Linked DNA regions of Homo sapiens: all the other regions are linked to region 3. Evidence: promoter capture Hi-C in human tissues and cell types (Jung and others, 2019). All regions are on one chromosome and are shown on one strand. Each heading gives the region's core, a stretch centred on a gene start or on the middle of the fragment in contact. The rest is flanking DNA. Distances are from core to core; before and after follow the strand shown.

Evidence for each region. Contacts are between HindIII fragments. The study calls those that stand out against the background at their distance.
Region 1: a contact is called between a fragment that was not itself captured here and the fragment with the promoter of GPR132 in region 3, in 1 of the 25 tissues and cell types used here (lymphoblastoid cells).
Region 2: a contact is called between a fragment that was not itself captured here and the fragment with the promoter of GPR132 in region 3, in 1 of the 25 tissues and cell types used here (lymphoblastoid cells).

What each region holds. Positions count from the first base shown.
Region 1 is chr14:106,120,621-106,124,314 of GRCh38, reverse strand. It overlaps IGH and the pseudogene IGHV1-12. Among named protein-coding and RNA genes, the nearest start is that of LINC00226, 170 kb to the left of the region's middle. The HindIII fragment of the contact is 4,139 bases long and covers 1-3,477 here.
Region 2 is chr14:106,396,362-106,399,755 of GRCh38, reverse strand. It overlaps IGH and the pseudogene IGHV3-37. Among named protein-coding and RNA genes, the nearest start is that of LINC00221, 84 kb to the left of the region's middle. The HindIII fragment of the contact is 9,547 bases long and covers 1-3,394 here.
Region 3 is chr14:105,063,139-105,066,687 of GRCh38, reverse strand. It overlaps GPR132 (G protein-coupled receptor 132), which reads left to right and starts at 1,258. Exons shown (of 4, transcript NM_013345.4): 1 at 1,258-1,309. RefSeq lists enhancers at 110-179, 390-559, 235-752, 2,430-2,569, 2,680-2,779 and 1 more. The HindIII fragment of the contact is 15,172 bases long and covers 1-3,549 here.

The sequences.
Region 1 (3,694 bases), core at 159-2,658, 1.1 Mb before region 3:
GTGTCTTTATTCTGAATTTATCTGTACCTGCAGATATTCTCAGGTGCAACATTCAACTGCAAGAGCCCAGCGAAGAAACTAGGCACTCCCCAAATCCTTCAAGTTTTTGTGTTCATTGTGTGTCCACTGACTCAGGAAATGTGAAGCTTCAGAAAAGGGGGTCCCTTCTGTGTCACAGAATCTTGTCTGTGGGTCTCCCTCTGTAGGTTTAGTAAGGCTAATCAATTGTTAAAAGACATGGTGTCAGCAGCATGTGGTGTCACTGATGGAGAATTCTAAACCAGGACACAGCCACTTCATGCTGGGCTAGAGACTCTGAAGGAAAATATTTGTGAGCCCCGACAGAAACCTCATTGCAAGGCAAGAGCTTCTGTGGAAGGGGGCACTTGGGAGCCACCAAGCGCAGGTTCCAGCCCTGGAGCAGGTGCACAGCTGGGGAGGAGGTTTCCTCTCAGTGCCTGGGTTTTCGTTTGTCAGGAAAAAACAATCTAAAATAACTGTTCAAAAAGTCGCTGATGTGCTTTAAATATTCTATCACATCAAAACCATTCATATAACTTAAGGCACTGGGAACTATTTTTTAAAGTGGGTTTCTAGAACTATAATATCTTAATAGTGAGAATATGAAGGATAGGCATGTTTTTACTAATTCTATGGGTACAGATTAGTTGAAGAAACTACATTCCTATGAATAAGAAATTCAGATTTCAGTGTTAAGTAATGTTGCTTACATTGTGTGAGTGACAGGGCAGTGGTGGATCTGAGAGTGTGGCAGGTGCACAGACCAAGTGAGTCAGAAATCAATATGGAAAGGTGAGGGTCTGTGGATATGAACTGAAAGTATGTAAATACTTGACAAAATACTAATAAATGGAGTTCAAAATAACCCAAAATTGTTCTAAACACAAATTCCTTGACAATTACTTTGGGAGTAGAGAGTTCATAATGGACTCCAAACTCCTGCTTTATCTTCTGATTCCCATTGTCTGTGAGATGAGAAAATCAGCTCTAATTATGCATCACAGGGCAAATCTGTAAATCAAGAGTGTTCAATAGAATTGAAGACCCTGGGGGATCAGGACATGAGGCAGGTGCTGGAGACAGTGTCTCAGGAGCACCCAGTAGATCTCAGAGGTCCCTCCTGGACACTCATGTGGGACATAAGCATCACTTTCTCAGAGTCACCAATGAGCTGTGCTGGTGGCTGATGGGTCCAGGAAAAGACCAAGGCACCTGCTCAGTGTGATGGAGAGTGATGGTTCCAAAAATGATCCAGGTGGTCTCTATGCTAATCAAATGTAGGCTCACAGTGAGGAGCCTGTTCTATATGGGCTTATTCTTCAGTGAAAGGACGTCTGTCCACAAATGTTTGTAAATGGAGCAGGGCATGCATTTCCTCAAGCAGGATTAGGGCTTCGACCGTCTGCATCTCACTCTTGTTAGGCTGATGTGTCATTTATCTTCCCTTTCTTATCATGGATTGGGCTTTGAGCTAAGAAAGGCTTTGTCTTATGAATATGCAAATATACTGATATCCACTGAGGTAAATATGTTCTGTGCCCTGAGAGAATCACCTGAGAGAATCCCCTGAGAGCACATCTCCTCATGGGCTGGACCTGCAAGATCCTCTTCTTGGTGGCAGCAGCCACAGGTAAGCAGTTCCCAGGTCCAAGTAATGAGGAGGGGATTGAGTCCAGTCAAGGGGGCTTTCATCCACTCCTGTGTCCTCCCCACAGGTGCCCACTCCCAGGTGCAGCTGGTGCAATCTGGGGCTGAGGTGAAGAAGCCTGGGGCCTCAGTGAAGGTCTCCTGCAAGGCTTCTGGATACACCTTCACCTACTGCTACTTGCACTGGGTATGACAGGCCCCTGGACAAGGGCTTGAATGGACAGGATTTTAGTTATTTGAGAGATTTTTCATACAACATTTATTCTGTAAGCAAATTTCAGGGATTGTAGAATGAATCATATTAACAAATCTGACACAGAACTTCCTCTGAATCAATCTTTGTAAACATCAATTTCTGAATCAATGTTGTAAATATTTCAGAACACAAGCACAAATTCACATTTTAACTCTACTTTTATCTCTATTTAAAAAATATCAAAAAATCTCATTTTGTGCATGTAACGTTTTGAATGCCCACCATCAATGCATGACATTTCTTGTTTTTCCACATTCATGTTACCATTTATCATCATGAGAATTGTGAGTTTTAGCCATGCTGATAGGTGAGTAATGGCATCTAATTTTTATTTAAATGCACATGTCCCAAATAAAAAATTCGTATTAAACAATTTTTATATAATTTTTGCTGGGATGCCTTTCCTGATATGTGGTTCATTTTTATCTGCATTGTTTTCTTTTCATTAGTTGTAAGTTTACTTGCATATTGATTATAAAAGTCACTTAACAAATCCAAAGAATTGATTTAACAAATAGATGACTTGGAAGTATTTTCTCCCAGTCTGTGGTTGTCTTTTTCTCTCTTATCAGTGGGTATTTCAAAAAATATATGTGTGTCTGTGTGTCTGTGTGTGTGTGTGTGCACAGATTTAGACAAAAAACATAAAAAATTATTCATTCATAGATCATGTATTTGGCATTATATCTGAAGTCTCATTATAAAATACACTAATAGTGATTATTTATTCCATGTTGCTAATCTCAGGCCACAATCAACTCATGAGTGCTTAGCCTTCACCTATTGATTGGAGGACTATCCACCTGAGATATTTGGAATACTTCCATGAGGAGATGTGTTCTTCTTCCCATCATTTCTTTATTTAATCATCTATTAACATCCGTATTGGTTTATGGACATCTATTTCATACTCTGAAGAAGATCCATGCTACATTATTCATTTTCTTGTTCAAATCTCCACAGCTTTATTAGGTGCTGGGACCTCATTTAGTTTGGATCCTGCATCCTTACAGCAAAGCTCATCCTTTTGTTTTTGAACACTTCCCTGTTTCCTGATATTACGATAGATTCTAAGCTTGTTTCTTTATCACCTTTTTCATACATAGAATTAGCCATTTATATAAAGATTGCTTGTTTCTGATTTTAAAGAGTAGTGTTAAAATAAAATATTGTGATAATGGGTATGTGTGTTGTTAATGTGGTATAAGTACTTCTGGGACCTCTCAACCTTCTGTTCTAGCAAATGTGCATGTTTATATGAATCATGTCATGTCCATATATCCAATGTTGAACTATGTTGCGAAAAGTGATCTCAAGATAATGGTAATTATCAACCCCCTCCCTAACAAGGTGTAGATCTGCATTTTTTTTTCATTGTAACTCAACTTTGCCTCATGGTCAGGAACAGTGGTTTCCAGCTCTAAATGTACTGATTACAGCGAGATGTCCGTTTTCCCTGGAAATGTATTTTTAAGTTCTTACTGGATGTATTTGTTGATAATGTTTTCTACTATGAAGATACCTGAACAGTGTCCGCACTAGAGAGTAAGAAAGAGTAATGGGCAGATTAACCCTGTGCATCCAGACCCAGGAATCCTCTGATCCTGCCCTCCCTGAAACGGAGACACAGAGGATGGATGAGCAATGCTGAGCGGTGCACCCAAGACCACAAAAAGAAAGACATGGAAATATGTCCCCTCCCCTCCTCAAGAAAGGCAGCTCATCCCCTGTTCCCTCAGGCCCGGGCGAGGAGCCACCCCATGTCTCTTC
Region 2 (3,394 bases), core at 668-3,167, 1.3 Mb before region 3:
AATTCATATGCAGTGTTTTATTTTATTTTGATGTTGGTGGGGGGTGGGGAGGATGGCCAAATCCCTGCTTGATCAACACACATTGCGTTTGTGCTCTGGTTCAGGGGAGGAGAGAGGAGGAGAAAGTGCAGACTTCCAGGCCTCTGTGCGCACCGGGAGGAGAGATTAATGATCATCTCTTCTGTCTGTGTGTTTGTTTTATTTATCTATGGATATCCTGTGTATAAAGGATGAACAAGTCCTATTTATAACATCTAATCTTTTCAGGTGTTAAGTTGCCAGCGTATGACGGAAGTAGCATTATTAAACGAATGCAGCTTGTACATATTGTGTTAAAATTCATAAAAAGCCAGTCTTCTGAAAAGAACCCTTGGGCCCTCCCTCCGCAGCCTCCGGCGCCAGCTGCAGGAAGACCTGGCCAGGGGAAGGCGGGCGGCAGAAGCTGCTGCTGGCTGTGGGGAAGGCGGTGGAGCCCAGGCCTCCACAGGCTCCCCACAGGCTCCCCACAGGCTCGCGCGGCTCTGGTTGCTGGGCTCCGCACGGGCCGCGTGGGGGCGCCTGCTGGGAGCGAGGAGGCGCCATCCTGGCTCGCCTGCTCCAGGAGGACGCTCTGGGCCTGCGCAGATGCAGTTCTCCAGGATGGGCGCGGGCGCTGGGGGCGGCGCTCCTTGGGCTGCTGCGCCTCCACTGAGCCGCCTGGGTGTGAGGACCTCGCGCCGGCGCCTCCGGGAAGGACGCGGAGCCGCCGCGGCCGATCCCAGGGCTGCAGCTGCTGCCCGACGCCCGCGGGAAGGCCCTTCCGCCACCGCCCGGGGGTTCGAACTTGGAGCAGCTGCTGCCAGCTGAGGCGCCAGCGGCGTCGGGAGCTCCTCAGAGTCAGTGTTTTGTGCTGGATTCGGCATGTCCTCTGAAAACTCGGGAATTTGTCACTGAAATGGTGACAGGAGGTGAGAAGTTTTTTTAGACGTTGCCTTCGCTGGCCTGGCGCGGGGCTCAGGCCTGGAATCCCAGCACTTTGGGAGGCTGAGGCGGGCGGATCGCTTGAGCTCCGGAGGTGGAGAAGCTGCCTTCGTGGTAACTGTGGTCTTAAGTTCAGCTGAGAACGATAAATGGCTTTTCCTTGAATTGGCTGCTTTTGTGATTTCTCTCAGGCTCATCTTTTGTCAGTTAAAAATCCAGTGGTAGGTGTAGCTTAGAGACGGGAAATTTTTGGTTTTGTTTTGGCTACACGTAAGTGTTGGAAATTATTTTCTTTTACGTTCCAGTGTGAGCAAATCCAGAAGGATGTCAGATTAAACACCGAATTTAACAAATTCAGCCGGGCACGGTGGCTCACGCCTGTAATCCCAGCACTTTGAGAGGCCGAGGCGGGTGGATGATGAGGTCAGGAGTTTGAGAACAGCCTGACCAACATAGTGAAACTCCGTCTCTACTAAAAATACAAAAATTAGCCGGGCGTGGTTGTGCGCGCCTGTAATCCCAGCTACTCAGGAGGCTGAGGCAGGAGAATCGCCGAGATTGCGCCACTGCACTCAGCCTGGGCGACAGAGCGAGACTTCGTCTCAAAAAAACAAAAAAAAATCAATCATTGGAATACTGTTGTTCATTACAATTAATGAACGTTTGATAGACGCATAAACGAACTAAATTCACAAGTACATATAAGTAAAATAAGCCAAAAAAAAAAAACTACATCCCGTATGATGACACTTTTATACATTCTACAGAATAGAAACTAAAGTGATATGAAGGTTGGGAGTTGAATGGAGAAAAGGTGAGCGAAAAGAGGGAGGACGGAGGAGTTGCAAGAGAACAAGAGAAAATGTTGAGGGTAATTGATCTGTTTTCTATCTTAATAATGGTTATGGTTACATCAATAATTTCTAAATTGTACATTTTGTGTGTTAATTATAATTTTATATTATTCAAGCTATTACAAATAAATACCTGTATAAATTTCTTAGGGACGGTTTAAGGGAGATGGATAAATCACATAAAAAGTCAGATATTTCTGAATGTACAATGAATAACCCTTAGCTCTATCTTTATTTTTTGGTAATTCTAAAATGCAGCAGATTTTTTTAATGTTTTTATTACAAGAAGGGTTTCTTCAAACCACACCAGGTGTGTGTAACTCTGGGCTAAAGTTGGTTAAGGGAGCAGTGGGATCCGGTGGAGAGGAGCACAGGCCTCGATCCTGGAGCCCATTCTTGTCACATGTGAGCTCCTGGACACATCTCATAGCTCCCTCATGCTTCTGCGTTTACATTCTCATCTGTAAATGGAGGACCAATGGGCATCTGCCTCTAACAATGTATTTTCATGTGTTAAGATGATGTATGTTAAGTGTTTACTATAGCACAATCTTTTAATAAGAAATTACATTTTTTTCCAAATACTATCATTGTCTTCAAGCCCCACCACCCACCAGAAAACTTAATATGCTCTGTGCCCTGCCCTGTCCTCAGACATCCAGCCCAAGAGACTTTTATATAGTAGGAGATATGCAAATAGTTCCCTCCCTCTGCTGATGATGAAAACCAGCCCAGCCGTGACCGTGCAGCTCTGGGAGACGAGCTCAAGTGCCAGGATTCCCAAGTGTTTTCACTTGGTGATCAGAACTTAACACAGAGGAATCACCATGTTGTTTGGGCTGAGCTGGGCTTTCCTTTTTACTATTTTAAGAGGTGATACATGAAGAACTACAGATATTGTTCGTGAGTGGATATTAGAGAAACAGTGGATATGTGTGGCAGTTTCTGACCAGGATGTCTCTGTGTTTGCAGGTGTGCAGTATGAGGTGCAGCTGGTAGAGTCTGGGGGAGACTTGGTACAGCTGTGGTGGGGTTGGGGGTGTCCTGAGACTCTCATGTGCAGCCTGCGGATTCATCTTGAGAAGCAATGACATGAACTGGGCCCACCGGGCTTCAAGAAAGGGGCTGGAATGGGTCTCATACATTAGTGCTAGTGGTGGTAGCCTATACTATGCAGACACTGAAGGGTAGATTCACCATCTCTAGAGACAATGGCAAGAACATGCTGTACTTGCAAATGAACAGTCTGAGAGATGAGGACTCGGCTGTGTGAGAGACATGGTGAGGGGAAATCAGTATGAGCCCAGCCAGAAACCTCCCTGCAGGAACCCTGGGGTGGGGGGAAATCAGCTGCAGGGGGCACTCAGGACCCACTGATCAGAATCAACCCCAGAAGGAGGTGCACATGGAGATTAGGGGCTGGATTCCTTCCAGGATGTGGGACTTCAACTTCTTCTGACAGTTTCCCCAGGGAACCGCTCTAAGTTTAGAATTCTGTGTCATCTCTATGTATTTAAAAAAGATCATTTTAATGTGAGGAACTAACTATTCTCACATGCACAAAATGCAGATTCACACTC
Region 3 (3,549 bases), core at 9-2,508:
GCGCCTCCCCGCCAGGGCAATGGGAAAGCCCAGCTTTCCAGGGACTCCACTGCCACCCACACAAAACCCTCTGAAATCGCTGTTCGGAGGCAGCCTCCAGCCATGCGGCCCTGCAGCAGGGGGCAGCTGTGATCCACGTGTCTGGGGGAAAGTGTAGACTGGGGGCTCGGCCTCCACCGGCCTCTCCTGGCCGTGGGTGTACCCACCCAGGATGGCGGCTTCTTCGCTCAGTGACCGTCCCTGCTGCGGTGCTGGGCAGTGTCGCTTGGAGACATTTGTGGTCCCCAGCTCCTTCCCTCAGCCCGGCCCTGTCCCCACTGCTGAAAGAGCCTGGCTTGGATGGAGCTTGGCAGGCTCGGGAGTGGGCACCAGGGTGGGTCTGTGCCCTGAAACTCAGAAGCAGCCTGGAGGTGAGTGGAGTTGTAGGTGCTGTCCACAGCCAGCTGGCTTTGTCCAAGGAAACTGGGCCCATCATGGCCGGAAGCCCCACAGTGAGGGGGACTGTCCCAGGCAACCCTGCCTGCCCACCCTCCAGTTCCCACAGGGCCCCTCACAGAGAAGCCCACCCGCAGGGCTCCTGGGCCAGGCCAGGCTTGGTTCTGGATGCAGGAGGGGTTGAGGTAGGGCTGGGGGAGGAATGTGGAGTGTGCAGTAGGCTGTTCTTCCCACACGGCCCTGCCCCATGTAGGAAGAGGGAGGCGGGGAGGGGAGGGTGCTTGTGTGCAGTGGCTGTGCCGAGCCTTCCAGGACATGCAGGTGCCATCCTGGTCCCGGGGCTGCAGTGGGCGCACTCAGCCTCTCTACTCCTGGCACCCCGGACAGGGACTCCTGGGAGGACACAGCCTCTGGGAAGTCACCCTGCTCCGTGCTTGCCTGGCCCGAGAGTGGGCAACACCAGGCCTGAGCTGCAGAGGAGCTGGATTTTGTCTTTCCAGGACCCCTCCCTGCAGCCTTTCCAGGACCCCTGTCCTGCCTTGCCTGTCTGGGGACACACGGACAGCCGCTGTGCCGCGCCAGGCCCCAGCACCTGCCTGGGAGCTCCTGAGTGAGTGGAGCCTGGCTCTGAGTGCTGCTATTGCTAAAAGAGGTAAGACTGGGGTTTCCTGCCACTCCCTCCCTCAGGAAGGTGACGAGGCCATGCTGTCATCACCAGTAAGATACCCCAGCCCGGTTGGCTAACCCCTAGCTCAGCCCTGTTTGTGGTTAGGGGAGTTCTAGACAGAACATAATTAGACCCCTGCTACTTCCTGAAACCTCAGCTAGGACTGCAGGGAGGGGTGCGAGGCTAGCCACGCAGGCGGGGCCCTGGGTAAGTCGCTGGGCTCTGCGTGCTGGGGAGTGGGCCTGGGGGGCCAGGCTCTGGGATGGGGCTGGGGGCTGGGAGCTGGAGGCGGGCAGAGGGGGATCTGAAGGCAAAGGTGATTTGTTGGTAAAGATGGAGGCTTTGTTGAGGGTTCTTAATCTGGGGTCCCTCCCGAGAGAACCCAGGACCCCCAGTGACCACAGATGTGATGGGGCCGGAGGATTTGGGGGAGAGGGACAACAGTTTCCATTGTATCTTTGTCACCGCCACCTTCCTGGAGACTTTCTTCTGGAAAAGGCTTCCCTGGCTACTGGTCCAGATGGGGGTGAGTCAGGGGGCTGGACTTTGTCCCTGGAATCTCTCCTTGGCCACTTGCTTCCGTGATTGGTCGGGGGGCACTGAAGGGCTGGGCTTCTCTCTGTGGGGCCTGTGCTGCTTGTGGGGTTACACAGAGGGAAAAGCAGGGCAGTGGGGGCTGTGCTGCGGTGAGTGGCAGTTGGCCCAGTCACGTGACAAGATCCTGGAGCTGGGCAGGTCACCGGCCTTTGGAGTGGCGTTCGGCGCACCAGGCACAGCGGGGCGGGGGGCCCAATACCTTCTGTCAAGTGCATGACGTGGGTCTGTACCACTGCAAGGGACTGGGACTGACCACTGAAGACTGGCCAGTTGGGCTGAGCACAAAATGATATTTCAGGAGATTGGCCAGGCCGAGGTGGGAGAGCAGAGGCTCCTGGAAGAAGATGAGGATAGGGGCTGGGCACGGTGGTTCATGCCTGTAATCCCAGCACTTTGGGAGGCCGAGGTGGGCGGATCACTTGAGGTCAGGAGTTTGAGACCAGCCTGACCAACATGGTGATACCCTGTCTCTACTAAAAATACAAAAATTAGCCGGGCGTGTTGGCACACGTCTGTAATCCCAGCTACTTGGGAGGCCGAGGCAGGAGAATCGCTTGAACCTGAGAGGCGGAGCTTGCAGTGAGCCGAGATCGCGCCATTGCACTCTAGCCTGGGCAACACTATCAAATTGGGAAAAATAAGAAAGTTGACAATGGGCTTTGGATGGGTGTGGTGGAGCAGGGAGGTTGGAGCTGGTGACTCCACATTTCCCTCCCTAGGGTTTGTCTCAAACGTGACGGCAGAAAAGAGGTCATAGGTTTGCCTGGTGCCAAAGCAGGTGGGAGTAAAAGACGGAAATGGCTAGGAATGGCCAGCAACCGTGAAACAGCTTAGAAATTACAGGCAATCCAGCCAGGTGCGGTGGCTTACGCCTGTAATCCCAGCACTTTGGGAGGCCAAGGCAGGTGGATCACCTGAGGTCAGGAGTTCGAGACCAGCGTAACCAATATGGTGAAACCCTGTCTCTACTAAAAATACAAAATTAGCCGGGCGTGGTGGCACACGCCTGTAATCCCATTTACTTGGGAGGCTGAGGCAGGAGACTCACTTGAACCCAGGAGGTGGAGGTTGTGGTGAGCCGAGATCGTGCCATTGCACTCCAGCCTGGGCAACGAGAGCGAAACTCTGTCTCAAAAAAAAAAAGAAAGAAAGAAATTACAGATAGTCCACAAGACAGACCTCAGCAGCCTGAGGAGCTGTTTTTGACAAATGGGCTGGAATGAGGAACTGCTCCCTGCACATGGCAGGGGCCAGGGCTCCTTCTCTGTCCTTTTGTGTCTGTCTGAAAAGTTCCATCATAAGTTACAAAACAGGCTGGGCGTGGTGGCTCACACCTGTAATCCCAGCACTTTAGGAGGCCGAGGCGGGCGGATCACCTGAGGTCAGGAGTTCAAGACCAGCCTGACCAATATGGCGAAACCCCTTCTCTACTAAAAATACAAAAAATTAGCCGGGCATGGTGGCAGGCGCCTGCTAATCCCAGCTACTTCAGAGGCTGAGGCAGGAGAATCACTTGAACCCGGGAGGCAGAGGTTGCAGTGAGCCAAGATCGTGCTATTGCACTCCAGCCTGGGCAACGAGAGAGAAACTCAGCCTAAAAAAAAAAAAAAAGTTACAAAATAGATTTTAAAAGACTGGAGGAGCACAGCAACTTGCAGGCCAGAGAGCTCCAGGGACAGTGGCTGGGTGAGGTCATGCTAGATCCTGTTATTGAAATGTCCATCCCAGGAACATGTGGTGCTTCTCTAATCTGGAAAATGGATTCATTGGCCGGGCATGGTGGCTCACGCCTGTATTCCCAGCACTTTCGGAGACCGAGGCCGGCGGATTTCTTGAGCCCAGGAGCTCGA